2 separate regions of the Homo sapiens genome follow, and region 1 is linked to region 2. Evidence: promoter capture Hi-C in 16 types of primary human blood cells and fetal thymus (Javierre and others, 2016). All regions are on one chromosome and are shown on one strand. The core of a region is centred on a gene start or on the middle of the fragment in contact, and the rest is flanking DNA. Distances in the headings are between cores, read along the strand shown.

Evidence for each region. The method cuts DNA at HindIII sites, captures the fragments that hold promoters and counts their contacts. A CHiCAGO score of 5 or more calls a contact.
Region 1: a contact is called between the fragment with the promoter of NEDD4L here and the fragment with the promoter of ALPK2 in region 2, in 5 of 17 cell types (total B cells, naive CD8 T cells, activated CD4 T cells and 2 more). The highest score is 7.3, in total B cells.

Annotation. Positions count from the first base shown.
Region 1 is chr18:58,042,530-58,045,575 of GRCh38, reverse strand. It overlaps NEDD4L (NEDD4 like E3 ubiquitin protein ligase), which reads right to left and starts at 1,350. Exons shown (of 31, transcript NM_001144967.3): 1 at 868-1,350. The coding sequence starts at 915. RefSeq lists silencers at 716-1,265, 1,286-1,655. The HindIII fragment of the contact is 1,832 bases long and covers 223-2,054 here.
Region 2 is chr18:58,627,583-58,630,485 of GRCh38, reverse strand. It overlaps ALPK2 (alpha kinase 2), which reads left to right and starts at 1,395. Exons shown (of 13, transcript NM_052947.4): 1 at 1,395-1,722. RefSeq lists an enhancer at 836-1,378. The HindIII fragment of the contact is 8,777 bases long and covers 1-2,903 here.

The DNA of each region.
Region 1 (3,046 bases), core at 101-2,600, 580 kb after region 2:
AGTGATTTAGCAGGATTGTTTCAAAAGGGGGGAGTGGGAGACACGGAAGAGAGAATGAAGGTAAAAACAAAGCCCTTTCCAGTGAAACCGACCGCCTGGGAGGCGTGGCTTATTCAGTCGCTTTATTAATAAAAGAGATCAATTAAGCTTTCCTCTCCCCACCCACCCTGGAGGTGCCGGGCTTTGAATCCTCGGGAGGAAAAAATGGCAGGGCTGCAAGCTTCCTCCCCAAGTTTCCAGGAGCACCTGCCACCAGCCTTGAACACCTCCCCCACCGAGGCTCCGAAATCCACAATCCTGGCCGTAGACTTTGCAAAACGAGGGGAGGGACACACGCAGCGTGTCCCCCATTCCCGCCGGGATAAGCACGCACAGGCTTCTGAGCGCCTGCTGATCCACACAATCATGAGAGAGAAAGTTCCAGGGGGAAACGATCCGGCTTCTCCGCAGTCCCGGGTCTCCAGCCGCGCGACCCAGACGTGACATGCATCATGGACTCCCGGGCTGCAGGGGCGAGAGGCGGAAAGTTGCCCAACAGCCCCGGGAGACGCTGCTTGGAGAGGAAGAGGGAAGAGAGGCACGCATGCCCCCTCCCTCTCCTCCCGAAAGCGAGGAGCTGCGGAGTGAACCCCCAGCTCCAAGGGCGTCGCGCCGCTTTATTTACAAACAATGAGCTCGGCTTGCGGAGGGTGGGGGGTGCGGAAGGACCCAAGCTCCCCTGGATCCCGCTCCGGGGCGCTCCCGCTTTGGGGCTCCCCTGCAGACGCTGGGCACGAGCACCCCGGGGACGGCCCCTTTCCCCTCCCCCTGCCGGCGCGGGATAGGAACTCCCCGGGGAGTCCCGAGCAGGAAGGGGGTGCCACTCACCTCGTCTTCGGAAAGTCCATAGACCGGCTCCCCGAGCCCGGTCGCCATGGAGCCGGCGCCCCGCGCGGGGTCTGAGGCGCTCCCAGCGGCTGTGCTGCGGCGCGGACGGCCGGTTCTCCCCTCTGCCTCCAGGTCCCCCCGGTCCCGCACCCTACCCTGCGCACGCCCTGCCGGGTAAGCGGCCGGGCGCCGGCAGGTGAGGGTGCCCGAGAGCGCGCCCTGGACGCTGCCGGCACCGCTTCCTCCCGGAAGGCTGCGGGACCAGCGGGCGGGCGGCTCCCGAGAGCGCGCCGAGCACCGGGCGGCAGCCCCGGCGCCTCTCACTGCGCGCGGCGGCGGCGCAGACCCGGCCGGGCTTTCCCTCCCCGCGACCCGCGCCTCCCTCCCGCCCCGCCGCTCTCCGCCCCCCTCCGAGCCTCCTCTGCGCTCCCGGGGACCCGGCTCGCCCGCCTCCTCGCTAGCGCCGTCCGGGCCCCCGCTCTCTCCGCCCCCTCCTCCGCCTCCTCCCACCGGCGCCGCGAGGGTACCCTCCCCGTTCGCCGGGGCGGGCACACGCGCCCCCCAAGCCAATCACAGGCCGGGCTGGCGAGCGGGCCGCGGGCTGCGGGGGTGGCGGAGTTCAGCCCCACGCCCACCCCGGCCCGGGGCCTCCAGCGCGGCGCGGCGGGGGTCACCCGGCCGCGGGGCGGATCCGCAGGGGCGTGTACTGGCGCGCTTGGCCGGCGCCGCCGACCCTCCCTCCTCTCCCGGTTTCCCTCCGCTTTAGGGAGGGGGCGGGCTGGACGTTTGGGGGCGATAGAGGATTTTGCGAACAATAACAAAAACGCCCTGAGCGTTTCTTCCTCCCGGTGGTCTTTTTACCGAGAGCCCTGAGCTCGCTGTTAACTGTGAAAAGGGGAAAAGATGGATGTTTCTAGACCCCTTTAAATTCTTTGCGGCCCCGACGAGCAGGACTTGGCTACATTGTCAGCTCCCGGGAGCGAGCCGCCCGGCCCGGCTGCCAGCCGAGGAGAGGCTGCCCCAGTGTGGCCGCAAGTCGCCATTGCCTGTGTCAACCTTGCAGGGAACAAAACCAACATAGCGCCCGCCCCGGTTACACACCCACCCACGCGAAAACAGACAGCATGGTTCTTTGAATAAAAAGCAGTTCATTTGTGAGCCGCAACGTGAAATATCAAACTCAAGCTTAAGGTTATCCTTTGCATATGCAAATGATCGAGACGTCTTATTAGCCACCGTAGGATTCTTCCCACCACCCAGCTACCGTTTCTCTAGCAAGCAGTTCATTTAATCCTTCCGATTTATAGGACTGCAAGAGACTACTTTAAATAAGTGAAAGAAATTCGTCAGTCGACTTTTTCGGAAGCCTTTCCTTAAATTTAGATGTTAAGTGCAGTTGGGAGTTCAAAAAGAAAACAGACGCAGAACATTCCATTTGCCTTTGAAAAGGAAACGTCAAAGTGCCTACTTGGGTATTACCAGGATGCATTTAGGATTTTCATTCAAGGAAGTTCAGAGAGAACTCGCGTGACCCGAAGGAATCATATTCCTCGTTGCCAGCTACATAACTAAATATCTGCTGTTCGCCCTGCTAGTTCGTTTTCAAAAGAGCCCACCCATGCTACCTTAAGCTCTCCTTTGCCTTCCTGCAGCATGACTGGCTTAAAACCTGTGCCGTAGAATGGGTTTCCTTTGACGACTTAGCCCCATGGAGTCAACATCCTACTCAGAAGCCTTCTCTAGAAGTCTTGAGCCGTCAAGTCCACAGTACTTACAGGCCACAAAACCCCCAATGAGAACTATTTATGGAGGACTATTTAAAAGTCAGATTTCTGTCCATTCTTTCAATACTGAGGTTTTTCAACCCTTTCAAACCTCGAGTCTTTAGACCGGGCACGGTGGCTCAAACCTGTAATCCCAGCACTTTGGGAGGCTGAGGCGGGCGGATCATAAGATCGGTAGTTCAAGACCAGCTGGCCAATGTGGTGAAACTCCATCTCTACTAAAAATACAAAAATTACCCAGGCGTGGTGGCGGGCGCCTGTAATCCCAGCTACTCGGGGAGGCTGAGGCATGAGGATCCCTTGAACCTGGGAGGCGGAGGTTGCAGTGAGCCGAGACTGCGCCACTGCACTCCAGCCTGGACCACAGAGCGAGACTCCGTCTCAAAAAAAACAAA
Region 2 (2,903 bases), core at 146-2,645:
AAATTAAGTTTCATAGTGAATTTCAACTTTTCCATTTAATAACTCCCAGGCAACACTTCTTTCACAACCATATCACATTTATCTATTGCTTTGGGACATTCCTTCACTTTTGACTTTATTCTCTCTGTGGTGTGCGACAGCATTTGTTTATTCTTTATCATCACACTTTCCTCCTCTCTTCATTCCCAACTTGAAGTTATCTCCTCTTTCTTATCTGGAAAAGACCTTACATTGTGAAGACCTCAGCTTTCCATAAAGCCGACCATTTGCAAAGAGTTGGTAATTTCTGTGTTCTGTGGCATTTCACAGATGTGTTCCCCAGGAGATAGTCATTATTTTACAGTGCCTCAGCTTTAATATCTTTTTTCTCACATGAAGATAAAACTGAAAAACAGAACATATCACCCCTACATTTCTTAATATTTTATCGTTTTAGATGAGTTTTCATCTTGTGAAAAGTTGCATTCCATCAAGGGATAATGATGTACATTCTGTGCTGTGTAAAAACAATTTGCTTTTGAGGATTGCAGTGCCCTACACAGAGTGAATATTTACAGCTATGTCCCTTTCAAAGTCACCCCTGGAGCTGCTAATTTGAGCTGTCTCCACGAGTCTCAAAAGAGGTTTCTGTCTAAGCTGTCAATTTCCAGGTGTCATACATTAAAATATTTTTGGGGAGAGGCTAAGTAGTTACAGAATGATGCTAAAGGATTCTCTATGTTTTTGGACTTGGATAAACTTCAATAAAAGAATTGCCCATATTACAAAATCTACTTTCCCAACAAGAACCATTCCAGGCAATCTGAAGGAATAGGACCTGTGGTATTTCTTCTGTGGATTTCTTCTGATCTTTGTCTGTTCTCTTCTATCGTAGTCAAAATAGGAAGGGGTGTGTGTGTGTGTGTGTGTGTGTGTGTGTGTGAGAGAGAGAGAGAGAGAGACAGACAGACAGACAAGGGGTAAGGGGGGGTAAGCAGGGTGAGGAGGGTGGATCCTGCCTTCCTTCTGTGGCTTCTGCCTTTCTCAGAGAACTTCAGAGGATGGCTATAATGCCTGTTCTAAATGAACAACATATGACACATATTTTCACCTCCCCAACACCCCCTCCACGGGTTTCCTATGTGTACTTCAAATGCCTGATAACCTTGGTATGAGAACTGGTTGTGTTACTCCGGCCTTAATCCCTTTATCAGGCAGCAAGTTTTTCCTTTCCTAAGGAGCGAGCAACTAAGCCCAGGGTCCAGCATGGGCTTTGTAAAGAGCTGCTCGGTCTCCTGAGCAGCAGCCAGTGACAGCTCGTCTGGGTTTCATCAGCTCCCTGGGGCTGCATTTCACCAGGCCCCCTTGCCAGGGCCTCCCCAGCGTGTCGTGTCAACAAGTGTCGCACCTACTGCAGAAACAGCCCTCAAGTTTCATCACAGGGATGCTAAAATATATTCTCCAGCTTCAGCAATGACCTAGTTCACTGAAGGGCGGGGAAAAAATGCTCTTCTTCCAGAACTTCCCCGGGCATGGAATTTCCCCTCTTAGGAAGAGATGAACTTTCTGGAAGCAGACCCATCTATGCTTTGACCTGATCATGGAAGACCCTGAGCCCTATAAACTCCTTTGAATCCCTGTCCCGGGAACAGGGACACCCAATCAATGCCTCACACACAGCCTGGGGAATCCACAGCTGAGCCAGCCCTCCTACAACATTTCTTGGACAAAGAGTACTGAAAAGTAAGTATGTAGACTTTGGTTTTTACATAAGGAATGGCTGTGCTTTCAATATATAGTTGTTTACATTTTCTGCAACAAAGAACAAAGCAGATGGTTTCCTGATGAAATAGAATGAGATGAAACCAATAGGGATTATATGGGATATTTGGGCATATAAGGTTTTAAAGTGGGCAAACTCTCATGGTCTTGTAATTTAAGTCCATTTTGACCCTTTTTGAAAATTATTGCTATTTTTAAATTTGCTTATTTTGGCTTGACAATAATGAATGAAAACAGTTTCTTTCACATCATGTCTATCTTAACAGTTAGAAAAAATATACAGAATGACTCAAACGAGTGATATGTAAAGTTTTGCAAAGCAACATAAAAAGTCAACTATCCAGGTAACTCAGGCCCCAGAGACTTTTGTCTGAAATATTTGAGTATTTTAGTCAAGAGTTATTCCTTTTACTGTGAATTAACTGAATGATTGAAAATCTCTCCTATCTGGGTAGACACAGGAGTATATTGTCTGACAACAGGTAATGCAATTTGCTGAAAAGCTATCAGGCTTTTCAAAATGGCTGATGTAAACATTTATCGAGTTGTTAAATAGATTTAAAAAAAAATTTAAGGCAAAAAGTCAGCCAAAAAAAAATCCATCAATTAAATGCCACCACTGTCACATTACAATTTAATGAACACATCTAAACTTTAAAAGCCTTGATTAAGGGTGTCAGTTACAGACATTTGGCAATCATTTAAAAATAGATAAAAGCAAGAACGGCATTTAGAGCTGCTTCTGCTCTAATTATTTTCTTTCCACAACCTTTTCCTTAAGTAAAGGTAGCCTTTATTTCTAAAGATTAATTAACCAGGAATGGTCATTCCAGAGATATGTGATATGTTTTATAACTCTATATCAACTAAGGACAAATTGAAGGGGTTTTTTGCTGTGTGGCTTCTGAATTGAAACCAAGGATGTTGTGGGTTACCTTCCGAATCAACAACTTCACAAATCCTGTATTAAAAAGCATGGATGGCCAATAACCATGTTCAGATCTTGGAAATCAGGACTTAAAACAAACTAAATGAACTTTAGCTCCCAAATATACATTGTCCTTTTTTTGTTTTGTTTTGTTTGTTTGTTTTTTGTTTTTAGATAGAGTTTTGCTCTTGTTGCCCAGGCTGGAGTACAATGT